4 separate regions of the Homo sapiens genome follow, and regions 1, 2 and 3 are each linked to region 4. The links are contacts of gene promoters, found by promoter capture Hi-C in blood cells and fetal thymus (Javierre and others, 2016). All regions are on one chromosome and are shown on one strand. The core of a region is centred on a gene start or on the middle of the fragment in contact, and the rest is flanking DNA. Distances in the headings are between cores, read along the strand shown. Region 1 has its middle 79 kb from the start of EXTL3-AS1. Region 2 overlaps SARAF (store-operated calcium entry associated regulatory factor). Region 3 overlaps DCTN6 (dynactin subunit 6). Region 4 holds the start of KIF13B (kinesin family member 13B).

Region 1 (6,500 bases), core at 2,240-4,739, 640 kb before region 4:
CCACTGCTGCCAGTTGGAGGTTCTGCTCCTAACCCCTAAGGGCTGTTTCTTCTGTCTACTTTTCCCCGTGGTGCTCCCAGATACAGCTCCCTGCCGGCAGCCTCCCCACTTTGAGACCCTGTTAACTCAGTCACCTGGGCCCCAGCTCCTTGTTCAGTGACCTCATGTCAGGAGCTTGAAATCAGCGAGGGTGGCAGTATTACAGCACAGGCATCTGCAGACACCACACATTAGCGCTTTTATTTCTGGAGAGCCAGCTGTCATCCGTATCCGTACACCGCCGACAGGGCTTCTGGTTCTTTTTTTTTTTTTTTTTTTTTTTTTTTTTTTTTTTTTTTTTTTGAGACGGAGTCTCGCTCTGTCTCCCAGGCTGGAGTACAGTGGCGCGATCTTGGCTCACTGAAAGCTCCACCTCCCGGGTTCACGCCATTCTCCTGCCTCAACCTCCCGAGTAGCTGGGACTACAGGCGCCTGCCACCATGCCCGGCTAATTTTTTTATATCTGTTTAGTAGAGACGGGGTTTCACTGTGTTAACCAGGATGGTCTCGATCTCTTGACCTAGTGATCTGCCCGCCTCGGCCTCCCAAAGTGCTGGGATTACAGGTGTGAGCCACCGCGCCTGGCCGGCTTCTGATTCTTGCAGACAGACTCCTGCAAGAAAAAAACTGATCCCACAGTGCCAGGCAGGGCTTCATTTCTCTGAGATCTGCTAGGTCCCCACCACCTCAGCAGGCAGGGCCAGTGCTTCCTAACATTGTAGAACTTCTCATTTCACCCCTGTGGTCAGGCTAACTGAGAGAGGGCTCAGTTCACAAGCACATTCTGCAGGCTCCTATGGAACTTGAACTAGAGCTCTGAGTTCTTCAGCAGGATGGATTGTGTGTGCCATCCAAGAATGGGGATGCTGTTTCCCATAACTGCCAACCCCTGTCCTCTCATGTTCCTGAGGTTCAAATGCAAGAGATGCTGCCCCTACACCGGTCTCAGGCATTTGGACCGGAATCCAGGCACATTACATACCCCATGTAGGCTTCATGGCCTCTAGGCTGTCTTAGCTCATTAACATCTCGCAGTTAAACTGGAAAGGCCAGAAAGGTGTTAAACAGAAACAAAAACACTGTAATCAATTTGGTTTGACTATATTTAACCGTTTAGCTTTTCTTTTGTTTTCTTTTCTTTTTTTTAAGAGATAGGGTCTCACTCTATCACTCAGCCTGTAGTACAGTGATGTAATCATTAGCTCACTGCAGCCCTGAACTCCTAGGCTCAAGTGATCCTCCTGCCTCAGCCTACTAAGTAGCTGGGGCTATGGTGGGCACCATCATGCCTGGATAACTTGCTTATTTTTGTAGAGACTGGGTCTGGCTATCTTGCCCAGGCTGGTCTCTAACTTCTGAGCTCAAGCGATCCTCCCCTCTCAGCCTCCCAAAGTGCTGGGATTTCAGATGTGAGCCACAGTGCCCATTGTTGGCTTTTTGATACATTTAAGATCATGTACATTACTGTTAATTATGATTGTTTTTGTCATTCAGTGTGTGTGATTTTCCAAAGATTACACTTTGAATCTCCAGGTGTGCACTGAATTGTCCCCCTCCTTCCCCACTGACAGGCTGAAGTCCTAAGCCCCAGTACCTCAGAATATGACCTTATTTGGAAATCAGATGATTGCAGATGTAATTAGTTAAGATGAGGGCATGCTGGAGTAGGGTAGGGTGGGCCCCAAATCTAATATGACTGGTGTTCTTATAAAAGGGGGATATATTTGGACACAGGAAAAATGCCACGTGTACATGAAGCTGGCCATCTACAACCCAGGAGAGAGGCCTGAAACAATCTTTCCTCACAGTCATCAGAACTGGAACCAACACTGCCCACACCTTGAACACAGGCTTCCAGCGTCCAGGACTGTGAGACAGCACACGTCTGCTGATTTAGCCCCCTAGCTTATGGCACTTTCTGACAGCAGCGCTAGCTAACCAATACACTCCCTGCTAAATGTACTTTTCCATTTGTGCCCCACCAGGGTTTGCAGACAAGCAAAATTGTCATAGTTCCCTAACGCCTCAGAATGTTTTCTTCCTGGATCACTTTTTATAATTATTACTTACAGTGAGGGAAAACTGAAATATTGCAATGCCATCCACAATTAGGATTAGTCCCAACCACTCAGAAACGTTAAAAACTGATCTAATAAAAATAAAGAACCTTAAGACGCATTAAACTCTAAGCTACTTGGAAGCTGCTTCTTCTGTTTGTGGACACGCAGATTTGCCACAGTTGAAATCACTGGCCACGTGCTGTCTTGTGTGTGTTTGTCACTTAACATCGCATGACAGAAATATTTCCACGTAGTGACAATGTTCATATTCTTATTTAAATAGCGACTTACTAGTCATTTGTTATATTCTCATTTTTCACTACATTTTTGTGTAATTTATTTTTTAACTGCATTTAAACTTTTTCCTCGGGGCATGTACGGGAAGAGTTCTGGATTCCAATTTTAGCCCCTGTCACACAGAACCCCGTTCTTCTCTAGACTGAGCTGACCTGTGGTTTCCCCAGAAATAAAAACGACGCGTGCAGGTTTCTCCCTCCCCTTGACGTCATTTCGTTTGATCCTTTGTAATGATTTTCCCTAGTTTCGAAAGCTTGCCCTAGTCTTAACGCTGTTTTCGCGTTTCCTTATGTCGCTAAGCGGGAGGTAGCCCCGCACTCTAAGCATCCGGCTCATTTTCATGTTTTACCGGACCCCAGCGACCGGCGCCCTCTGCGCTAGGCGCCCGGTGCCGTATAGCCCTCCGCCGTGTGCAGCCGGGTGCTGGTGTTGTTGCAGCGGCGCCCGCCAGGAGGCAGCGCAGGCTCGGCATTGGCTGCGGCGTCCCACAATGCACCGGGCTCTGGGGCCTGCACGACAGTCTTGAACCCAGCTGCGGGGCCGCGAGAAGGCGGGCCCGGGAGCCGGCGAGGGCGGGGCCTCCGAGGAAAGGGCCGGGAGCCGACGCGGAGGCGGTGGGCGGGGCGTTAGGGGGCGGGGCCGGGAGCCGCCGAGGGGGCGGTGGGCGGGGTATTCGGGGGGCGGAGCCGGGAGCCTCCCAGGGGGCAGTGGGTGGGACCGGGAGCCGGCCGGCCGGGCCGGGGATGCGGTGAGCCGAGGGCGGGGCCTCAGGGGGCGGGACCGTGGAGAGGGCGGGGCCGGGCCGCTGGCGCTGTCGCCGGCTGCAGTGGCCGCCGCTGGAGACCGCGGGACCTGGCGCTGCAGCGAGGTAGGGGCTCTTCGGGATCTTCCCTTTCGGGGGTGGGAAGTCTTTTCTTCGTCGTGCCAACGGGAGAAGCGGCGAGCTGCTAAAATTTAGAGACGGCTTCGCACTTCTCGCTGTAGCCCGGGCTTTACCCGGGGGATCGATTTTAAAACTCTTTGTCTGGCCCCGTCGTCCTGCCCGCGGGCCGGACGTGGGGCGCCTGCTCTGGGCGTCTGGGGCGGGCGATTGCAAGCTCGCGGTCCATGTCCCCTGCCTCGGAGTGTGGACGTGAACTCCGGGGTGGGCTGGGCTGGGTTTCTACAGAGGCGGGAATTTGTGAGAACTGGGAGAGTGTGGCTGTCGGCAGGGGTCCGTATCACACTGTGGGCGGGGGTCCCGACCCCTGCTGCCTCGGGTACGGGGTAAGCGGCATCTGCCACGCGCCCGCCTCGCGCGCTGTCAGGAGGCGCTGTCCCCGTGGGTAAGCCCGTGCCGTGGGTGCCCTCCAGTCCCTGCAGCCCCAAACACACCTACCCCAGAGGACACCACAGAATGCGGACCCCAAAGCCAGCCGTACCTGCGAGCCCCTCAGCACAGCTGACTTTAATTTGGGATCCCACAATTTGAGCTTTTCAAAAGTTAAGTTTGGCAGATTGGAAGCCCGGGAATAGGGGGCGCTCGGAATGCTGAGTTTTGTTGGTGTTTGTCCTCAGCCTGTTTCTGGGTCACCCTGCAGGGCTCCATCCGTTCAGTCTCACCCCTTGGTAAGCATGTCCTGTCCTGAAGGCTCCATGCTGAAAGTCTAGACCCCATCTTTGCCTACTTTTCAAGGCTTGGCAAAGCACGTGTGTCTTTTGATCCTTATCCCCCATGTAACATAATTCATGTTTTTAAAGATATGTTTTTATTTAAAACCTTCCCCCTATATTTTCATTCCCATAAATACGAATTGGTTGATTTTACTTGTGAACTCCTTTAGGCATTTAGTAATAAAGGTTATAATTAGGAAAACTGAAAGATATTCATCAGGTAAACATGATCCTCCTTAACAAATTTGCTGCTCGTAAAAGGCAGCAGATGGGAAATCAGGCAAGCTTGGTTTTAAAACGTTTCTGCCTCTGAGAAGGTTGAACTATTAATATTATATTTATTGTTCATTCCAAGTCTAAAATGCTAGCAATGAACTCACATTCCTTTTTTGCTAGACAGTCATACCTGTTGACTTGAGATAATAAGAAAATTCTCCTCATCCCCAGAACTGAAGAAAATTCTTTCCAATTGTTCTCACCTTACCTATCCCCAGGGAAAGGAGATAAGTCTCAGAGTTGTTGGGATTCTAAATATTTTGTTAAGCAGAAATTCCTGCTGGTCCTTAACAAACTCTGAGTACTTTGCTCTGGAATTATCAGTTCTTTTTCAAAATGTGAAATTATGAATTGCCTATTACATACAATATTCCACATCTCACGTTAATATTCATTTAAAAGCATTGTGAGGCCGGGTGTGGTGGCTCACACCTGTAATCCTAGAACATCCGGAGGCCGAGGTGGGAGGATTGCTTGAGCTCAAGAGTTCAAGACCATGCTGGGCAACATGGCGAAACCTCATGTCTACAAAAAATGAAAAAATTAGCCGGCATGGTAGTGAGCACCTGTGGTCTCAGCTACTTGGTAGGCTGAGGTGGGAGGATCACTTGATCCTGGGAGGCAGAGGTTGCAGTGAACTGAGACCACCCCACTGCACCCCAGCCTGGGTGACAGAGTGAGACCCTGTCTCAAAAAATAAAAATCATTTTGTAATTGTGAGTAAAAAGAAACAAATCTTTAAAAGATTAAAAACAAGAAAAAATTAGTATATGTTAGTGATTACCATTTTGACTTCCCTGGAGGGACAATAAACCCAAAAGATAAAACCAAAATCTAGTTATTAATAGTCACCGACACCATAAGAACTAGAAGGCACCATCTGAAGCTTAAAAGGAAGTTTAAAAACATGTTAAATTCAGACAATAACTTTGCACAGTGGTTTGCAAACATCAGTAAACCCAAACCCTCAAGTGATTCCTATGGAAAGACACTGACACTCAGATCAAGAAATTTAAATACAAATTCATGGGCTAACTAAAAAAATAAGCAGATCAAGTATCTCCAGCATCAACTGTGAATACACACACGTTAGGTTAATTTAAAAAATGACCCACTGTTTTTTACAATCTTCCAATGCCTGTATGCTTCCAAAAAGGCACAGCTGGCATACTTTTTGCTTCTAAAGGAGGTAAACTTTAAAAACTGACCCGCAGTTACAGACCGGCACTTAGAGGAGTTAACTCAAACAGGTGAGTGACTCACCAATTACTCATTTTTTCTGCAGATTATTTACCTACTAAGTGCAAGACTGGACTCATAGCTTTAGCTCACTCCTAGTGAAAACACTGCACATAGGATCTATAAATGGAGGCTGTGTCATCAAGACCTCAGAAGTAGGGGCCGGCATATTTCTTAGACACTGATGAAACAGAAACATCTCTCAGAAGAACCATAAAGACATGAGTAGCTCTGTGTTAAAACACATCATTTATTTTGAAGGGAAAAAGGAACGCAGAAAGAACAATAGAGAGGAACTCAGAGCATTTCCTCTGTGGCTTCCCCCTTTGTGGTGCCAATTTAAAACAAAATTATTGTCTAATGATACTAATTTTTAAATAATAGTCATGTAATGTGAGGTTATAGAAGTAGTTATTCTGAAGGAGATAGTCACTCATACATGAACTGTCCAGGTTTCCAATAATAAAAACATCACTCTATTCCTATTCATGTATTTGTTCAATAAACACCCTAGCACAGTTTTAGGATTAGGAATATGAAGATAAATAGTTTAACATCTGACTTTAAGAAGCTGATCTAGTTGGGGAAATCAACCCAGAGATAATTATGCAGTTGGTATGATGATAGATGTCTGCTCGTAGTGCTATCGGACCTCTGAAAAAATCAGTGCCTGAAATTAGTATTAAAGGATGACTAAGTTTTAGCCAGAAGTGGGAGGAGACTGCTCCAGGTAGAGGGAACAAACATTAACAAAATCATGGAGGTAAAGGCCAGGCACGGTGGCTCACGCCTATAATCCCAGCACTTTGGGAGGCCAAGGTGGGAGGATTGCTTGAACCCAGGAGTTTGAGACCAGCTTGGGCAATATAGTGAGACCACATTTCTCCAAAAAAAAAAAAAAAAAAAAAAAAAAAAGCCAGGTGAGGTGGTGCACAC
Region 2 (6,666 bases), core at 515-3,014, 800 kb after region 4:
ACATAAGATATAAAACTGGGGCTTTGAGGTTATGAAGCTTAACTAAGTGTAACCATGCAATCTCTGATGGGTTGGGAGGCTTGGAGATTTAATTATTTTTTTCAAACGCTATTTTTTGGCAGAGGCTTCCACACCATTTGTAAATTACTTTTTGAAAACATTTACCAAAAGACTAAGGTACGACTACCACATAAAATTACTGTTTAGGGAGACAGAACTTCTGCATGAACTTTCCCCTTTGGGAAAAAGGGTTTAAAAAAACAAAAAGTAACATTTATTTGCGCCTAGGCTAATAGAAAGAATGAGACTAAACCCCTTGTTTGTTTTTATTGATTCTTTTTAAGATTGAAACAGACTATTACAACAATATTTGAGATTTCACAGAGAACTGCATGCTTTTGTTATTAAAAGACTTTTGTTGAAAAATTTGACCTTTACCTCTTATGAACGAAAGAAATATAGAGGTTTCAAGCATTTTTGCCAGCACAGAGTCATTCACAACAACCTTCTAGATGCTTATTTTCTACCTTTTCCTACAGAAGGTAATATTCAGTTACCAGAAGGCCATCTCCACCACTGAATGATTCAAAGCTTCAGAGCTCAAAAGTGATCAGAACTCACAAATTAGCATAATTAGTCCAAAGCTTGATTTAAATGTTTGAAGAACAGCAAACATCAAATAATATAATACCAAATAGAATATTATAGTCTCTATGAGGTAATAACTCATCAGCTACAACCACCTAAAACTGAAATTTTCTGTACTTAGTTTCTATTAGTACAACACCTTCATTCTTAATGCTTCTTAGGGCATCACAGGTTTTAGAAATTAATGTATTTTTAGCATTCCACAGTAATGATCACTTTCAAAAACTGCAATATACATCTGCATGTTACACTGACATACAACACATAAGTATTTTGTCACACATCAACTTTTAGCCTCAAATAATAGAATACAAAAAGCTACACTGGACATAACACCACAGAACTTTTGAATATCCCCTTTTCCCAATTGTTAACAGGTAGTACTTTTTTTCTAAAGAGAAAGTGATGAAAAATCCAAAATTTCTGCATCCAGTGTTTGACTCCAACTTTCTACTTTATCGTCTCCTGGTACCACCATATCCTAGAATGAGAGGGGTAAAATTTACATTAGTTTTTAAAAATGCATTAGAATTGCTTATAAAATTACAAGTCATACATGTTTATTGTCAGCAAATGAATGAGATAGGAGGAAAGGAAAGAGTGTGCCACTAGGTGGAACTGGGCTAAGCAGGACAGTGCATCGCCTCCCACAGCAACCTTCCCAATCATCAAGCCTACTACACTCACACATGGTTGCTGGGAATGACAGTTAGGACCCCAAAAAAGAGAATGCATTCTATAGTGGGGCCACCATGGTACAGGCAATACTCAAAGTCTAAGCCAAAAAGACAGAGGCCAGTGGCGCATAAGCCATGCCCTGCTACCTCTCACAACTCCAGTGGTAAGAGACGTAATGTGGGGAGGGTTACGGACTTTAGATGCTTAAACGTTACTTAAGACACTGTGCGCACACACACAGGCTACAGGATGACAAATCTTCCTATCTAGAAAGTCTCTCAATTATTTTCAGGTTTACATTATTTGGTTTTTATGATTTTCTTTCATATAATTCCCATACATTTCTAGTTCATAGTCATGATTTTATGCAAGTCTTCTTTCCACTGAGAATGAATATTTTTCTGTCATGATGTCTTACCTAGCCATATATATATATATATATATATATATATTTTTTTTTTTTTTTTTTGAGACAGAGTTTTGCTCTTGTTGCCCAGGCTGGAGTGCAATGGTGCAATCTCGGCTCACTGCAACTTCTGCCTCCCGCGTTCAAGCGATTCTCCTGCCTCACCCTCCCAAATAGCTGGGATTACAGGCATGTGCCACTACACCCAGCTAATTTTTGTATTTTTAGCAGACATGGGGTTTCACCATGTTGGGCAGGCTAGTCTCGAACTCCTGACCTCAGGTGATCCACCCATCTCAGCTTCCCAAAGTGCTGGTATTACAGGTGTGAGCCACCGTGCCTGGCCTTACCTAGTCATATTTTTATATATTCTCCCAACTCCTTTTTTTCTTCCCAGAAGTACCTACTATCTCATACTCTAACACCATAAATTAGTTTTGCCTGTTTTTGCATGTGTATTTTATAAAATGTAACTGCTATCATCATAGTGTATATATTATTTTGTGTCTGGCTTCTTTATATTTGGTAGATCTATCCATGTTATTGCACACAACTACTTATTCTTAGTTGCACAGTAACCCACTGCAATACAGCAAACATAACTCAATTTATTCATCCATTTTACTGCTGATGGATACGTGGGCTGTTTCCAGTTTTGGGCAATTATGAATAGGGATGCTATGAACAGTCTTGTGCTTATCTGCCAGCACACAAGTGTATGCATTTCTGTGGCGATATATCTGAGAGCAAAACTGCTCTGTCCTTTGGAAGTATGCATAGGTTCAATTTTAGGAGGTAGTACCAGTTTTTTTAATTGAATGTATCAATATATATCCAAACCAGCATTATGAGAATTCTACTCACATTTTAAAACATATTTAAATATATTTTTCTATCAATTTCAAGAATTAATCATTGTTCTATAACTTCCTTTTCCTGAAAGACAAAGCTACTCCAGAGCAATCTCTCATGGCCTCCTTACCCAGCAGCTCCCAATTAGGCTTGATGCTTAATCCAGTTATTCCTTTGTTTTTTTTGTATCTTTGCTTTTTACAAAATATCCTCTGAGCATTCCAATAAACATTACAATCATATTTTTGAAAATTAAAGTATACCTCAATATCTTTTTTGAATGTTATTGAATTTTAAGTTTAAGCTTCTACTTAGAAAAGTCTAGTTTAGAACTTAAAGGATCTCTAGAGATCACAGAATTAAATATATGGGGAAGCTAGCACCCAGTAAGGTTCAAGTTAAAACCTTGGTCTATGGTAGAGCTAAGCCTAAATCAAATCCCTGTTTGATTTTTAAAGAATGTTTAAAAGTGGGATCTCAGTTAACTGTGCTATTAATATTTTTGGTAGGTACACCAAATAAAACCATGGTTGCTAAACAGATAATCATCTTCTAAAGTTCCCAAACTATTTCTGTACTTTACTCCTAGGTAAAAGGAACTTGTATTTTTTGCTCTTACCTGATGCAGTTCTGGTTTTCGTGTCTGAGTTTGAACATACCGAATAGCTGCCCGAGCCTCCATGAAGGGGTGAGTAAGCCCTATTCCACGTGCCAGGGTAGGAGGGAGGATAGGACGGGTAGTACCACGAGTCTGAGAAGGGTGTTGCCGCTCTTTAAAGGGATAAAAGTAGGTTAGGCATTTTTTTCTTGTGGCTATAATTTTTAAATACCTTCCTGTTCCTAAACTGTCAGAAAAAAATATCTTTATCAAGTATTTTTTCCTGAATGTTCTGGTATATCAGAGTTAACATGAAATAAAAACCGTTTCATATTTCTGCCATTATTATGGTCACTGCTATGGGGGAAAAGTGACAGGGAGTCAATGCTCTTTCTGAATTTGCACTCGAATAAAATCTAAACTTAAACTACCATTAATACTTCATATTCCAAAATCTGGCCCCAAGCTCTTTCCAGCCTTATTTTTATCATTCTCCTACCAAACCAGACTGTTCCCCAAATGCTGTCTTCTTTCCTGCCTTCTTATTTTCTCAGATGTCAACTAAACAGTCTTTTTCTTATCTCATAATATATATGAAGGTGACACAGGAAGAAACACAGTGAAAGAAAATAACATACACAATACTGATCAAAACAAATATAGTGTACCTTCCCCCTTCCCAGAGAATCTTATTTAATAGGCTAACGTCACCACAATTTATTTTCCTTAGCAAAACTAAATGCAGTTAAATTGTAAGCAAAACAAGCCTCTTGAATTAAAGAGCAAGTGAGATCAATGCAAAAAGCTTACCTATTGCTGCCAAACAAATATCCTAGTATTCCACCAGTTCCCAAGCCTGTCCAGAACCCTGGTCCTGAATTTTCATATCCTTGTTGTCCTGTAAAAGCACTGCCAAAACCAGAAGTTGCACCATGGCCAGTATTCTGTGGTCCTTAAAATAAAAATGATTTATTATGTATCCTCACTTAAACATGACAGTCTACAAAAGCAAAGATAATGTAACATTTCAATTATTTCATCTGTACTGAATTATTAATAATACTCAGGCATCAAGTTATTAACAAGTTGTATTCAAAAAGGTATTTGTAAAATACTGGTTTATAATGAGGGAGAGCATTTCCCATAGATATGGGAGGAGAGGGATAGATTTTGGGACTGGGGAGGGTCTTGCTATAAAATGACATCTGCCCTGCTCAATCAGCTACTAGAAAATCACCCCACTTTTCAGGGTTACTTTCTCTCTGCAGTACAAACTCTAAGTGGAGTCTCTAAGAGCTCCAGATGAGAGCTGTGCCTCAGTCTCTAACCGAGGAATCCAAGGGGAGGCAGCCAGATATTTATTTGTGTCAGTTGGGAAGTCAGATCTCAAAGGGACCTAAAAAGTATCTTCTGCTCAGAGGAAGTTTTAACTGATGTATACATATATATAAGAAAGTGTGCTAATCTTACACGTGTGGCACAACAAATTTGTACATATGTACCTATCCATGTAACCACCACCCACACCAATAAACCATTTCTGGCACCCCAGAAGGCTCCCTCATGACAACTCCTAATAGATTCCCATCTATGTCAGAGATCAGCACTACTTTAACTTCTCTTACCATATTTTAATTCTGTCCATTCATGAACTTTTTCTAAACAGGATCACAAAGTATGTATTCTGTGTCCGGCACATCATTATGTCTATGGGAGTCAATCCTACCATTGCATTATCAGTTTTTTTCTTAACTCATGTGTCTTCCACCGTGTGAAAAATTTACACAGTCCCATTCTAATGTTTATGGATATTCCACCTCCATTTTTTGGCAGTTATAAATAAAACTGCTATGAACATTCCTGTGCATCTTTCTTGGTGCACCATGCATTCACTTCTCCCAGGTATGTACATAGGAATAGAATTGGGTATGCATGTTTGGGTTGTTTTACCATTTAAACTCCTACCGGCAAAGTATGAAAGTTCCAGTCACTCTACATTCTTGCCCATACTTGGTACTCTGTCTTTTTAATGTTAGCCATTATGGTGGTTATCTGGTGGCTAAAAATAATCTCCCTGTGGTTTTCATCTGCATTTCTCAGGAGACTAATGATGCTAAGCACCTTTTCTTATTTCTGTTGAACATGTAAATCATGGGTTGGGACCCCAGTACTGCTCCACGGCCTGTTAGGAACTGAGCCACACAGCAGGAGGTGAACAGCAAGCAAGCGACTGAAGCTTCATCTCTATTTAAAGCCACTCCCCCATCACTTGCATTACTACCTGAGCTCAGCCTCCTGTCAGATCAGCAGCAGCATTAGATTCTCATAGGAGCACAAACCCTACTGTGAACTGCACATGCGAGGGATCTAGGTTGCATGCTCCTTATGAGAATCTAATGCCTGATGATCTGTCACTGTGTCCCATCACCCCCAGATGGGACCATCCAGTTGCAGGAAAACAAGCTCAGGGCTCCCACTGATTCTACATTACATGAGTTGTTAATTATTTCATTATATATTACAATGTAATAACAACATAAATAAAGTACACAATAAATGTAATATGCTTTAATCATCCCAAAACCTTCTCTCCCCACCCCACCCCACCCCAACCCCCCTAGTCCGTGGAAAAATTGTCTTCCACAAAGCTGGTCCCTGGTGCCAAAAAGGCTGGGGACTGGTGAAGTAGATGTCTTCTCTTATTATAAAATGGGCATTCAAGTCCTCTTTGGAGGGCCTGTCTGCCTGTTGCTCAGATTTACAGGAGTTCATTTTATGTTCTACCGGAAATACATTTTATATATATATATGCCGGAAATACGTTTCGTAAATTTTTCCCAGTCTGTAGCTTGCCTTTTCACTCTCCTAATAGTGCCTTTTGATGATTAGATGTTCTTAATTTAAATAAAGTCTAATTTACCCATGTTTTCTTTTATGGCTAGTACTTTTTATGTTCTGTTTAAGAAATCTTTCCCTATCCTAAGGTCATAACAAATATTCTCCTATGTTTTATTCTGGAAACTTAATTGTTTTACCTTTTACGTTGAGATTTATAATACTTAAAGAATTAATTTTTATGTATAGTGTGAGACAGGAGTCAGGGCAAATGATTATTAGCAAAGTTGATCAAGTTTCTCTGATTAAGAGTATTTATAATTTAATCAGGCATTTTTTTTTTTTTTTTTTTTTTGGAGACAGGGTCTCGCTCTGTCACTCAGGCTGGAGTGCAGTGGCGCAATCTCGGCTCACCGCAACCTCCACCTCCCGGGTTCAAGTGATTCTCATGCCTCAGTCTCCCAAGCAGCTGGAATCACAGGTGCCCGCCACAACACCCGGCTAATTTTTGTATTTTTAGTAAGAACGGCGTTTTACCATCTTGGCCAGGCTGGTCTCAAACTCCCAACCTCAAGTGATCTGCCCACCCCGGCCTCCCAAAGTGCTGGGATTACAGGCGTGAGCCACCGCGCCCGGCCAATCAGGCATT
Region 3 (6,824 bases), core at 703-3,202, 900 kb after region 4:
GCTCAGTCACCCAGGCTGGAGTGCAGTGGCGCTACCTCGGCTCACTGCAAGCTCCGCCTCCTGGGTTCATGCCATTCTCCTGCCTCAGCCTCCCCAGTAGCTGGGACTACAGGCCACCACCATGCCCGGCTAATTTTTGTATTTTTAGTAGAGACGGGGTTTTGCCATGTTGGCCAGGCTGGTTGGTCTCAAACTCCTGACCTCAAGTGATCCACCCACCTTGGCCTCCCAAAGTCCTGGGATTACAGGTGTGAGCCACCATGCCCAGCCCAAAACTATTGTATTTCTGTATACTGTGACAATTGGAAATCAAAATTTTGAAAAATCCAAACAAAATTACAAAGACAAAATATCTAAAATGTTAGTGTTATTTCATAGTAGCTGAGAGCAGATTTAACACCATGAATGTCATTGCCATTTAGAAAAATTCTTTTATTAATGAAAAGAAGTTTCCTAATAACTATCACTGTAATGGAGAAGTCATTTGATGTACTTCCTCATGTCAGCTCATGGTTCAGCTAGGGTCAGTGTTTACATACAGCTTTGTCAAACAAAAGATAACAGCAGAATATAAAAAAGCATCAATAAGTTATATGGAAATTATTAGAGTCTTTTGAAGAATTTGTACTACAATTTATATTACTTGGTAAAAAGTTTCTCATATATGTGTATGTATATATATATATGAGAGTAAACAGAAACATTTGTAAATTTTAAATTTCTAAGTTAGTATTACCTTGCTGGTTGTTAAATAGTTTGAATGTATATTTTTTCTTCCTACCTTTACAAAAATAATGGCATATTACATACTGTCCATTTTCTCACTTCACTCTTTTTTACTTTTAACAATATAGCTTGGAGATCATTCCATATTTTTTTTTTTAAGAGATGAGGTCGCCGGGCACGGTGGCTTATGCCTGTAATCTCAGCACTTTGGGAGGCTGAGGTGGGTGGATCACCTGAGGTCGGGAGTTCGAGACCAGCCTCACCAACCTGAAAAAACCCCGTCTCTACTAAAAATACAAAATTAGCCAGGTGTGGTGGCACATGCCTGTAATCCCAGCTACTAGGGAGGCTGAGGCAGGAGAGTTGCTTGAACCTGGGAGGCAGAGGTTGCAGTGAGCCGAGATGGTGCCATTGCACTCCAGCCTGGGCAACAAGAGTGAAACTCTGTCTCAAAAAAAAAAGATGAGGTCTCACTATGTTGCCCAGGCTGGTCTTGAATTCCTGGGCTTAAGCAGTTCTCCTTCCTTGGCCTCCCAGAGTGCTGGGATTACAGGTGTGAGCCACTGTGCTCAGCCATTCCAAAATCTTGACAAGAGATTATTCATTCTTTTTGATGGCCATGTAATAGTCCATAATGTGCCATAATTTATTAACTAATCTTCCACTGATGAATATCTAGGTTGTTTTCAGCTTTTTGTTGTTTAGAAACGTGCTGCTATTAAAAGAAAAGATTCAAAACTCTTCTCAAGTGTTTTAGCACATGTGATTTGGGATGATGGACAATATACCAATTGAAAAATTTATAATGTATTAAAACCTTACCCTCTTACCATTGACTTTCCATTTTTCCATCTTTTTTTTTTTTTTTTTCCTGAGACAGAGTTTCACTCTTGTTGCCCATGCTTGAGTGCAATGGCGCGATCTCGGCTCACTGCAAACTCTGTCTCCCGAGTTCAAGTGATTCTCCTGCCTCAGCCTCCCAAGTAGCTGGGATTACAGGTGCTCGCCACCACGCCTGGCTAGTTTTGTATTTTTAGTAGAGATGGGGTTTCTTCATGTTGGTAAGGCTGGTGTCGAACTCCTGACCTCAGGTGATCCCCCCACCTCGGCCTCCCAAAGTGCTAGGATTACAGGCGTGAGCCACTGCGCCTGGCCTTTTTTTCCATCATTTTTTAAACCTTGTTTTCATTACAATGTCACGGTAGCTCCTCCAACAGTATGTTTAATCTTACCCCTGGTAAATGTTACCTTTTTCTTGCTACAGTGTGAAGATTGCTCCTGGAGCAGTTGTATGTGTAGAAAGTGAAATCAGAGGAGATGTAACTATCGGTAAGAAATAGTTTATTTACTGTTTTTCAAGAATTGATGTGATTTAATCTATTTTAGTGCTTTACAATTAGATACCGTCTTCCATGTTTATTTCACTGATGTCCTAGTTTTATTGACAAAATAATGCATTTTCTCCTATGTGTTTAAATTTCTGAAAGAATGTAGTGTGATGGAGGCTGTGTTTAAACTCCTATCTGAAATACTAATGAGGCTGTATAACAAAGTCATTCATGTATTTAAGAGAGATCTGTTGTGTACCTGCGATGTGCCAGGCACTGTGCTAGTGCTAGAGACACGTCAGTAAGCACAGCAGACAAAGGTGCTGCCTTTGTGGAGCTTCGTGGAGAGCGTGGGCCATGGAGTCAACAGACCTGGGCTACTCTGCTCCTTGCTCCTTTCTTGCTGGGTTACTTTGAACATATTACTTAACCTCTCTAACCTTGATGTTTTTCCCATCTATATAATTGTGTGTATCAGGATCAGGTTCGGCTGCATGTAGGGGTGGCTTACACCTGCAGAGGTTTATTCTCTCATATAAAAAGTTTCAAGGTGAGTAATGGAGGGCTGATCGGTTGATTGTCCAGCATGGAGCTCCGGCCCTGCAGGCCAGGAAGTGATGGCTAGAGCACCAAGCATCATCTTGGATGAGAAAGGGGAGGCGTGGAAGCAAAAGGGCATGTGTTCCAGCTGTGAGTCAGCTCCCTTTAAACAGCCTTCCTGAAAGTTCCACACGACCCTCCTCTGTGTGTCTCATGGCTAAGACAATCTCATGGACACATCAAGCTGCAAGGGAGTTTGGGAGTTGTAGTCTTAGCTGGTTGCATTGCAGCCGCTAATGAGATCAGGGTTCTATTACAAGGAAAAAGAGGAGAAGAGATATTGGATGGCAATGAGCAATTTTCATAACATGCAAAATAGTAGTATCTACCTCCTAGGTTTCTTGAAAGAAAACATGAAAATTGTGAGTAGTAAGCTGTCAATAAATATTTGCTGTTAACGCTGTCAGATCTTCTCAGTGTAGCCTTGCCAGAGTTCAAGTCCAACATTTTACTTACGTGAACTTGACTAAGTTCCTCAAACATTTTACTCTGTTCTTTTAACTGGGGTTTACCTGGATATGGTGCCCTTGTAGTTTTATTGGTGTGAGCTCATTCTTACCAGCAGCCGCATGTCACCTGTATGCTACCAGACTAAAGTGTTCAGTGAACTATTACACTTTCAGAGAGGAAATACACTTTATTTCCTTAAATGAACAGTTTCTTTAATGAAAAAAAAAAAAACCCTGTAACGTCATTTTTTTTTTCCAAAAAAAAATCTAAGCCTCCAAACAATTTAGGCATCTTGTCTTATAAAACCAGTGGAGATTGTGCCAGTATTATGGAACATTGTTAAGAATTTGCCAGGTTAGGACGGGCACGGTGGCTCACGCCTGTAATCCCAGCACTTTGTGAGGCTGAGGCGGGCGGATCACATGAGGTCAGGAGTTCAAGACCAGCCTCAACATGGAGAAACCCCGTCACTACTAAAAATACAAAATTAGCTGGGCATGGTGGTGCATGCCTGTAATCCCAGCTACTCGGGAGGCTGAGGCAGGACAATTGCTTGAACCTGGGAGGCAGAGGTTGCGGTGAGCCGAGATCGCGCCGTTGCACTCCAGCCTGGGCAACAAGAGCGAAACTCCTTCTCAGAAAAAAAAAAAAAGAAAAAAGAAAAAAGAATTTGCCAGGTTGGTTGATTTAATTATTTCTTTTCAGTGCCGTGGTAACTCTTTGTCTTTTGTATTACCTAAACCACTTGCGAAGTGTTTATGAAGCAAAATGAGGAAAGTTATGTTTTTTAATTTTTTACAATCTCTACTGCAGACTGGGACCACATATTTATCAAAATGCTCCTCTGTGTTCTTTTTACTCATCATTTTACTGCATTATAATTGTGGCTATCATCATGATATTCTAGGAATAATACCTTATAGTAGTTTGCAATGCATTCTTCAGTTAGAAGGAAAGTAAGACTGAAGTGATGTAATTAATTATGTAGATTTTCCCTGGCATTTCTACTTCTTCCCCATTTTACATTTTTTCTTTTCTTTTTTTTTTAAATCCCCCAATGTTACAACAACCCCGTTTTGGTTTTTTTTTTCTTTCTTTTTTTTTTTTTGAGACAGGGTCTCGCTATTTTGCCAAGCTAGTCTTAAACTCCTGGGCTCAAGCGATCCTCCTGCCTCAGCTTCCCAAAGTGTTGGGATTACAGGAGTGAGCCATCACACCTGGCCCAACAACAACCCCATTTTAAATAAGTATATAATGTCTACTATAAGATAGGTATGTAGATAGTATAGATACATCTGCAGGCATAAATATACACAGGCATTATGTGGTGGGGGGGGTATGTATTTCAGATTTGAAATAACATCTTTTGCAGAAGCTTTTCTGGGCTGTAAAGGCATTATCCTGTGCAAGGAAGGTAGCTGCCAGTGATTGGTGGACCACTGCCTAGGACTGAGTTTTAGGGGTATCAGGGATCAGTATTCACTTTCCTGTTTCTCTCTCTGGTTTTCACTACATTGTGGTCCTCCCCCATCTTTAACCCTCTTATGTTCCTACCTTCCCTACATGTTGAAATTATTTAAGGAAGTACAGGCTGGATGCCGTGGCTCATGGCTATAATCCTAGCACTTTGGGAGGCTGAGGTTGGGAGGATCACTTTAGCTCAAGAGTTCAAGACGAGTGTGGAAAATATAGTGGGACCAGAAAGAAAGACAAAAAGAGAGAGAGAGGAAGGGAGGGAGGAAGGGAAGAAAGGAAGGAAGGGAGGAAGGAAAGGAAGGAAGGAAAAGAGACAGAAAGAAGGAGAGGAAAGGGAGGGAGGGAGGAAAGGAAGGAAGGGAGAGAGACGGAAAGAGAAAGAAGGAAAGAAGAAAGGAAAGGAAGAGAAAGAGAAAGGGAAGGAAGGAAGGAGAAAAAAGAAAAATTAGCAGAAGGAAGGGAGGGAGGTAGGAAGGGAAAAATTAGCTGCATGTGGTGGCGCATGCCTGTAGTCCCAGCTACTTGAGAGGGCTCAGTGAGCTATAATTGCACCACTGTACTCCAGCCTGGATGACAGTGTGAGACCCTGTCTCAAAAAAAAAAAATTACATAAGGAAGTGCATTGTTTAAATCTACTTTCCTTTTAGTTTGTTTGTTTGTTTAGAACCAAGGTCTTGTTCTGTTGGGCAGGCTGGAGCGCACCAGTGTGATCATGGCTCACTACAGTGTCGAACCCCTGCACTCAAGTGATTCTCCCACCTCAGCCTCCCAAGTAGCTAGGTCTACAGTGACGCACCACCACACCTGGCTAATTTTTGTATTTTTGCCCAGGCTGATCTCAAACTCCTGGCCTCAGTTGATCCTCCTGCCTTGGCCTACTAAAGTGCTGGGATTACAGGTGTGAGTCATTGCTCTTGGCCCTTCAGCTAGTTTTTGACCACTAGCTGGTAGTGCACAATTCTGATGGTTAAAATGACATTTTAACACAGATTTTCTTTCTTTCTTTCTTTCTTTTTGAGACAGAGTCTCGCTGTCTTGCCCAGGCTGGAGTGCAGTGGTATGATCTCAGCTCACTGCAACCTTCACCTCCTGGGTTCAAGCGATTCTTGTGTCTCAGCCTCCCAAGTAGCCAGAATTACAGGCATGTGCCACCACACTTGGCTAATTTTTTTGTATTTTTAGTAGAGACAGGGTTTCACCATGTTGGTCAGGCTGATCTCAAACTCCTAACCTCAAATGATCCACCCTCCTCGGCCTCCCAAAGTTAGCACAGATTATAACATAAGAAGTGGTAATACATTTTTAAGGAAAGAAATCTCTAGCGATTTAAAGTTTATCACAGCAGACAGCCTCCAAGTGAATACTTGTTATATTTACTTTGACCCAGTGTTTCTAAACAAGAAAATTTTTGCTCAAATACTGAGGAGAAAAACTCAATTTTAAAAGTTAAGGAAAATATGAGGAAAAATGAAGGTTCAGAAGAGTTATATAGTTACCCATGGTTCTGTCTTCTACAATTCTTGTCTCATTTTTGTTATGTATGTTTCTTATCTTCAACTGTATAATATGGGAATTTTTCAGAATTAGTAATTAGATAATCATTTTTGTCATTGTTATATTTGGTATAAAATGTCTCAAGTCTTTTGGCTTCTATTAATTCATTTTTCTGATGTAATGCATCAGATTAAAAAGCTCCTGGGAGATACAATTATAAAAGCAAAGAGTGGAGATAAGTCATCTGATTACAACTCTCCCCACCCTGCTTTATTTTTCATTTTAGGGCTTTTATTGTTGTTTTTACTTAGTTTATCTGAGTTAAGTAGCAATAAACTGTTGTTTAATTCATAGATTTTTTTCAGGATGTTTTGTGTAATTTTCCATCTTCTAGTCATGTATACTTTTACAAATTATTCCATTCTGAAATATTTCAGGAAGAAAGTAATGTTTTCCTTTGCTAAGTTTCAGGCTAATGGAACTTTAAACCCGATCTGTTTTCCTAGAAAAGCAGGTATTTGTTTTTTCAGAGAAACTAGCTGGATGCTTGGAAGTATGGTCCTTAACCAGAAACCCTATGACTTGAAGCTCTGCTGGAGCCTGACCCCCTTATTCAAGGCTGTTCAGAGACAGAGCTTGGGAAAAGTAACAGCCCTCTTGTTAATTATAATTTGGGTAAATAAGGTTTCATAGCATCAAGCCTATTTTTAGTTAGTCTGCCTTAATTCATGGCCCATGAATTATTTCCTG
Region 4 (6,979 bases), core at 4,182-6,681:
TCTACAAAAAATATTGAAATTAGACAGACATGGTTGTGCACACCTATGTACCAACTCCACAGCAGGCTGCAGCAGGAATATCGCTAGAGCCCAGGAGGTTGAGGTTGAGGATGCAGTGAGTGATGATCATGCCACTGCACTCCAGCCTGGGCAACAGAGGGAGACCCTGTCTCAAAAAAAATAAATAAATAAAAACAAAGAAACCAACCAACAAACAAAAAACAGGAGATTTGGGGAAAAGAATTTAAAAGTATACCTTCTTCTCAAAATGCCTCTGGCCCTATGTGCATATATCCAAATTTCAGTCACTGAGTTGACAGTAGAAACAAAACAATGTTGTAATACATGTGTGTCTCATTCACCATTAGCATGTCAAGCAGATGCTGACAAAACAAGTATCTTCTGTTTTAGCAAATACTGCCAGAAATTTCCATCCACGGTCCTCCTTGGCTCCACATCTGTCAGTGATCTCTCTGAGAATACTGAAGAATCACCAATGACCCCAGGGGTCAAAGCCACCTTCTCCTGTCCCTTCATTTCCTAAGGGTCACCTCTATCTTCACTGACTACCAGCATCTTCTAAGCTTCCTCGCACTTGCTGGGTTTTTCCTTTGCCTGTTGATTCACAGCTGCTTAATTTTGACCGACTTCCTTATGCTTCCCATTCACAAGGCTTCATTTTCAGCAAGCGCTTTTAAATCCTGCCCAGCTATGCCAGAAATCGGTCATCTACTGAAGCTTCCAATCTTGCTTTGGGATCTAGCAATCTTTCCCCGTTGTGTTTGTGTCCAAGCCCCATACAAGGTCCCAAGAAGCAAAACAGAGTGCGTGGACCAGCCACCCTAGGTCCGGACTTCTGGCCTGGCTGCTTTCAGGGCTTCCTGCAATCCACCTGACCTTTCCTGTCCCATCATTCTCTAGCTATCCTCACAGAATCTCCATTCTGGCAGGCAGATCTCATCTCTGCTGCCTAAACCTGCTTTACTCATTCTAGTCTCTGTGTCCTCACTCTCAGGCCATACTTCCTCCTCAAAGAATACATGCCATCCCCTCTCCCGTGCTCACATCATAAGCTTCCTCCCTGGAAGTCCAACCAAAGTTCACCCTCCTCAGTGAAGTCTAAACTCCTCTCGATTCCCTTATTTCCCTGTCATTCACCTGGCACTTAGTAACTAGCAGCCTGCTACAGCTGTTTACCTTTTAATCTAATCTTTTCACAGGCATTTTCTTTTCAAGCCCATGACAGTCATTTCCTCACAGGCATGAACCATAAAGCATGCTTTAAGAAACTGAATATGATGGTAACAGGCAACCCTAAGAAAACTTTTAGGAAGTAAAATCCCCCTAACAAGAACAATCAATTTCACTTTTTCATGTTTCTTTCTAGCTCTTGCCCATTCCTGTATACATTTTTACATAGTAATAATAATAGATTTGATCAGTTACACGTACAGCTTTACATTCTTTTTCCACTAACAGAGAAAACGATCTTCCTTGTTAAATGGTTTTGACTGTCATCATTTTAATCGCTGTATAATAGTCCCTCCATTGAGATACTAGATCATGATTACCAAGGCACTGACTCTACATTGACTCTATTAGACATTATTACATACTTCTGTGTCTTTCACCACATCAAGTATTGGAAAATGCCAAGTAAACTCATTTGAAATATCTCCTGAAATAAATTTCTTGTCCATTCTCCCTAACACCTGAAATAATCTATTTCACTGTTTCTATCTTCATTTCTTTCGTTTCCCGGTTCTACCCCCTTAGGCTAGGTAGGTAACAAAGGTATTCCAAACACCTTTTATAGATATTTACTTATTTTGGTAGTTGATCTTATACAGATTTACACACAGGAAATCCCTTGAGGAAAAGCATTAAGATCTCATCCTATCTAATATAAGCCAGATACCTGGCAGGCACTCAATCAATGTTTGCTTACCTATTAAATGTTTTTTAAGCCACCTAAAGTTAGAAAACATCAAATTCCTGGAAAGGAGAATGTTGCTGATCTAACTAATCCCACCAATTACGGCTACAGAACTTTCAGCTCCTGTAATGATTAGACGGGTTAATAATGTATGAATGGGTGTTCTGTGCGGCACATGGAAGCACACAAGAATTATCTGTTTAGCTGTACAGTCTGAACAACAACACTGGAAAACAAACGATATCTGCAAATAGAACTTGAAGATCTTGTGACAAAAATTTACCCTTTTCTCTAGTTGTTTAGCTTTGCATCTCAGATGAAGAAAGGCAAAATAAAGGTTGTAATATTAAAATTATGTAAAATTACATACACGTGTGAGCACAAACTGGCATGGAAATGAAAAGCTGTTAGGATGAAGAAAGTATGTGAACTTTTTTCTTTTTCTTTTTCCTTTTGTTAGTGGAATGTTAAAATAAATGTATGACTAGACAAATATTTCTGACAAATTAGCCATTACAACTCTTCCTGTTACTGAATTAGGGCCTAATGCTTAACCTTCAAATAACTAAGGTTCCCAAACCCACATACAGTTTAGCAGAAAGACTAAAATACTCTCACTTCGAGGATAACTGTTAAATAATAAATCAGCTAACCACCTTAAAACTCCAAACACCTAAGCACAACCACTGAATCACACAAGAACTTAATACACCAGAGTTTTCTGGAAATTTTCAGATTTTCCTCAAAAGATAGCTAATGTGATTCCAAATATCAGAGTCTACACAGTAAAACTACATCATCACAGTAACCCATTCTCATCCCCGTCCTCTTTTATAGATAGCGATTTATAAGGTTGCTTCCGGCACCTATATGATAGAAACTATTAGGACTCAAGTTTTACTCTTTGTCATAATTATACAGTATTACATAATACTAATAACTGTTCAAAGTAATATTCTTTTCAAAATTACTGGAAAGGTTCCTACAGATCATACAAGGAAGAAAAAAAAGGAAATTACTGGAAAGAAATATGGTTTTGTTTTAGTCTTTTTTTTTTTTGAGACAGAGTTTCACTCTTGTCGCCCAGGGTGGAGCACAGTGGCACGATCTTGGCTCACTGCAACCTCCGCCTCCTGGGTTCAGGCTATTCTCCCGCCTCAGCCTCCTTAGTAGCTGGGATTACAGGCGTCCACCACCACGCCCGGCTAATTTTTTGTATTTTTAGTAGAGACAGGGTTTTGCCATGTTAGGCAGGCTGGTCTCGAACTCCTGACCTCAGGTGATCCACCCGCCTCGGCCTCCCAAAGTGCTGGGATTATAAGCGTAAGCCACCGTGCCTGGCCTGTTTTAGTCTTTTTATACAAACTTTGGACACCAATTTTTAAAAATCACTGGATTTACAATCCCACCACACTGTATTCCATAATAACCTTTATATTTATGTGAACAATTACTTCATAACAAAAATGGAAAAGAACAAATTTATGTGTGGTAATCACTGAAAAAAGAAGTCCACATGCACGTCAGGAAATATAAGGCTAAGAATGGGCACTAAGTGAACACAGGAGGTACTTTACACCAAATAATGCACTTCTCTATATAGGCTAATGGAATCTATGGGTAAACCTCAATTTCAAAATGATTGTTGAACCCAAGGATCAGCTCACATCCGTTCCACAGCTAAAACTATTATTCTTTGCCTTCCTCTAAACTCTGATGTTTATTACAACCTTATCAATGGCAATTTATAAGAGAAAAGCATAAGAATTTCCCTCAAAAAGTGAAACCAATGGGGAAAGGGAGAGGGAAAGGGCTCTAAATATCTGAGATGTCTTTTGTGGTGGTTGGTTAGCGGCCTCTTTTTAGCACTGACATTTCCAAGTTTTTTGTGAAAAGGAAATTTTAAGAATGTGCTGAAACCATCCTTTCAGAATCAATTCCCAGATAAGTTATGTTTCATTTGGCTTCTTTCTTTAAATTATTGTGATGGTAAACTGGAAGTAAACTGAAATACAGATACCTGAATATTTAAAAACTGATGCTTCTGAAAATTTTCAGAATTGTATCGACGTTTATTGTGTGTTGTCAGAGCACGAGATTAGTGAAGCAAAGCAGGACTCAATCTTGCACTAGTTGAGAACTTAAAGTAATTAAGTTCTTAGGGAAAAAAACTCACCTGACAGCTTTAATCGGACCTAGCAGGAACAGGACAAAACAATTCCCATAGATGAGATAACTCCAAGCGAGAAACCAATTTCCCCGAGAAGGACAAACCAACAAAGCTTATGTCAACTGGTTGATCTGTATGTCTCAATATATACAAAAGAAAGCAAAGAAGAGGAAAACAACCTATAATTTCTACATAAAAATTAAACAACACTTGATTTTGCTAAGAAGCTACAACTTTGTCTCTGGTACTTAAATGATTCTAATTAGTTCAAAGTCTCATCAATGGCAAAGTCATCTCCTGAGACAGTAATAGTGACCCCCAATGACAGGACCTTGTATATAAAGCGTTTTCAAACACATTATCTTATTTAAAGCAACTCACCCAGTCATGCTGCTTTGACTATCAAAGCCAAGACCCAGCCCACCTCCTCCCCTGACTTTTGGGGTTCTCTCCACTCCCCGGGTCTACAGATTATTTAAATGTACTCGGTTTATCTGCCTTCTCTACACTCCCTGCAGAGTTAAGAGAATGTCAGAAAGATACAATTCCACAAGAATCTTGGCACTTTAGCTATTTATTGAGAGATGATGAATGAGACTTCAGGCAAAACCAAAACTTTCTCAACTGTCCAAAAACAACGAAAAGGGCATCTCCTCCACCTGACCCCAATCTCAGGACGCCCAGGTGGAAGGAACTCGCCGCGGGGCACCCGCCTGGCCCCCTGCCCTTCTTCCCGCCGCGGGCCAAGGCGGTGCAGGCTTGGGCGACCCGGGCGAGACGCGGGGTCCCGGGGGGTCCCGGGCGGTCCCGAGGCGGGCTGCAGGGGCTGGCGACCCGCGCGCGGGGGCGACGATGACAGCTGGCGGGGAAGGAGCGAGGCTGAGGGGCCAGGACGAGGCTGGGCGCGAGGGCCGAGGGCGCCCTCGGGAACCTCCGGGGGAGACGAGAGGGCAAAAGGGCGCAGGGGCGGGGCGGGCGCAGGCGGAAGGGGCAGCGGGGCCGGCACGAGGGGCCCGACGGCGCCAGGGACGGGGCTGGCCAGGGGGGAAGGGAGGGGAGAAGAGGGAGCCGGGCGTCTCAGCGCGGGAGCGGGTTTCAGGGTCCCCGGGCCCCTCCTCGCGCCCCGCCGCTGACTATAGGGGCGGGGCCGCCGGACCCCCCACGGCGGCCGAGGGAAGGGCGCGCCAGGCACCTGCCGCCTCCGCCCCGGCGGCCCAGGAGGGCTCGGCTCTCACCTCGCCGGTTCATGGGTCGTATCCGCACCGCCACTTTCACTTTGGAGTCCCCCATCCTGCAGCCGCCGAGGAACTCGTTCGGCTTCCGTCTGCCGCGGCCACCGGCGACTCTTCGGGGTTGACCCGGCGGGAGGGGGCCGGGGGCGGAGCCGGGGGTGGGGACCGGGCTGGGGGCGGGGCCGGCGCGAGCTCCGGGCGCTCCCCGCTGTATGGCGGGACTTGTAGTTCCCCAGGGTCGTCGTGGGCGGGGCCGCAGCGAAGGCGGGGGCGGGAATGCTCGGGCGCGAGTCGTTTGCTACAACTTACCTACAGCAATGACGGCTTTTGTAAATTACACACCATTCTTGCTCTCGCAGCCAGTATTGAGAAGTAAGCCTTCAAGAGCTGATACCTCTTCTGAAAAACAATTGAATAGATGGCGTCAGGGACCCCGCTACCTCTTCCTGCTCATTTCCTGCCAATCTTAGTGTTTGATCCCTGGCTCAAGTTATTTCCTCTGCCTGGATTGACGTCCGGCCTTGTTTGCTGAGCTCGTCCTTCACGACAAGTTGCAAATCACGTTTTCTGGGAGTGTCCATAGGTCCACGGGTTAACATTGTCCTGTGAGTCCCCCTCCTTTGAGACAGGACCTTGGGCTCTGAAAACCATCTGAGTTCAAAGCCCACCTCAGCGCTTCCCACTGTGTGACCAGGGGCAAGTTATTTGACCGCTCTGGGCTTGTCTTTAATATGAAAAGTGGATATGATACTAATACCTAGTAAAATAGGTACATTTTTAAATAAGATTAACATATGTGTAACCTAGCCTTTAGTAGAGACCCATAAACATTAATTGCATGAATTAATGAATGAGGCCACACTAAAATTAGCTTTTTATTAGCCCTGGCAGACATTCTAACAGGTGGCCTGGGTGCCAGAGCCAGCACGCAAACATGTTCTGTTTGGCCCAACAGTGTTGGCCAACACATAAAAATCAGATTTGTGGCCAGGTGCAGGGGCTCACACCTGGAATCCCAGCATTTTAGGATGCTGAGGCAGGAGGATTGCTTGAGGCCAGGAGTTTGAGACCAGCTTGGGTAACAGAGTGTGAAATCAGATTTGTGCATGCAGTACTGGGCCTACATTACATATTGGACAGAGTGGATTGGAACTAAATAGCAGCAGCCACCTTTATCAGAGACCCGTCTCTCCACTTCACCACGGCCCCCCTCCAGGTGGCTTTACCACACATGCGCCTGGACCTTGTGGGTTTGTGACCCCTGCTTAGATGTGTTTAAATGATAGTAATAGAACTCAGAACCATTTTACAGATGAGTAAATACAGAAAGCTGGTAAGACTTGCCCTTTTACCAACCATCCTGTTATTGAGTATCTTCAATACAAGCAATGTTGTCAAAAAGTATAAAAATACTTTTTTTTTTTTGAGATGGATCTAGCTCTGTCACCCAGGCTGGAGTACAGTGGCATGATCTCGGCTCACTGCAACCTCCACCTCCTGGCTTCAAGCGACTCTCATGCCTCAACCTCGACAGTAGCTGGGATTACAGGCATGTGCCACCAATCCTGGCTAATTTTCATATTTTTAGTAGAGACGTAGTTTTGCCATGTTGACCAGGCTGGTCTCGAACTCCTGACCTCA

What was found. Contacts are between HindIII fragments. The CHiCAGO score rates a contact against its expected background, and 5 or more counts as called.
Region 1: a fragment that was not itself captured here is called in contact with the fragment with the promoter of KIF13B in region 4 in 2 of 17 cell types (non-activated CD4 T cells and fetal thymus); the score reaches 7.9 in non-activated CD4 T cells.
Region 2: a fragment that was not itself captured here is called in contact with the fragment with the promoter of KIF13B in region 4 in 1 of 17 cell types (naive CD8 T cells); the score reaches 7.2 in naive CD8 T cells.
Region 3: a contact is called between a fragment that was not itself captured here and the fragment with the promoter of KIF13B in region 4, in 1 of 17 cell types (fetal thymus). The highest score is 5.3, in fetal thymus.

The regions. Positions count from the first base shown.
Region 1 is chr8:28,619,547-28,626,046 of GRCh38, forward strand. It overlaps a transcript of EXTL3 not described here. Among named protein-coding and RNA genes, the nearest start is that of EXTL3-AS1, 79 kb to the right of the region's middle. RefSeq lists silencers at 2,594-3,030, 2,952-3,211. The HindIII fragment of the contact is 1,685 bases long and covers 2,648-4,332 here.
Region 2 is chr8:30,062,785-30,069,450 of GRCh38, forward strand. It overlaps SARAF (store-operated calcium entry associated regulatory factor), which reads right to left. Exons shown (of 6, transcript NM_016127.6): 4 at 3,993-4,134; 5 at 3,204-3,355; 6 at 219-1,129. The coding sequence ends at 1,104. Among named protein-coding and RNA genes, the nearest start is that of SARAF, 17 kb to the right of the region's middle. The HindIII fragment of the contact is 2,244 bases long and covers 643-2,886 here.
Region 3 is chr8:30,162,121-30,168,944 of GRCh38, forward strand. DCTN6 (dynactin subunit 6) reads left to right here. Exons shown (of 7, transcript NM_006571.4): 2 at 1,991-2,055. Among named protein-coding and RNA genes, the nearest start is that of DCTN6-DT, 8.9 kb to the left of the region's middle. The HindIII fragment of the contact is 5,050 bases long and covers 1-4,477 here.
Region 4 is chr8:29,257,639-29,264,617 of GRCh38, forward strand. KIF13B (kinesin family member 13B) reads right to left here and starts at 5,432. Exons shown (of 40, transcript NM_015254.4): 1 at 5,342-5,432. The coding sequence starts at 5,396. RefSeq lists a silencer at 4,810-5,639. The HindIII fragment of the contact is 3,487 bases long and covers 4,217-6,979 here.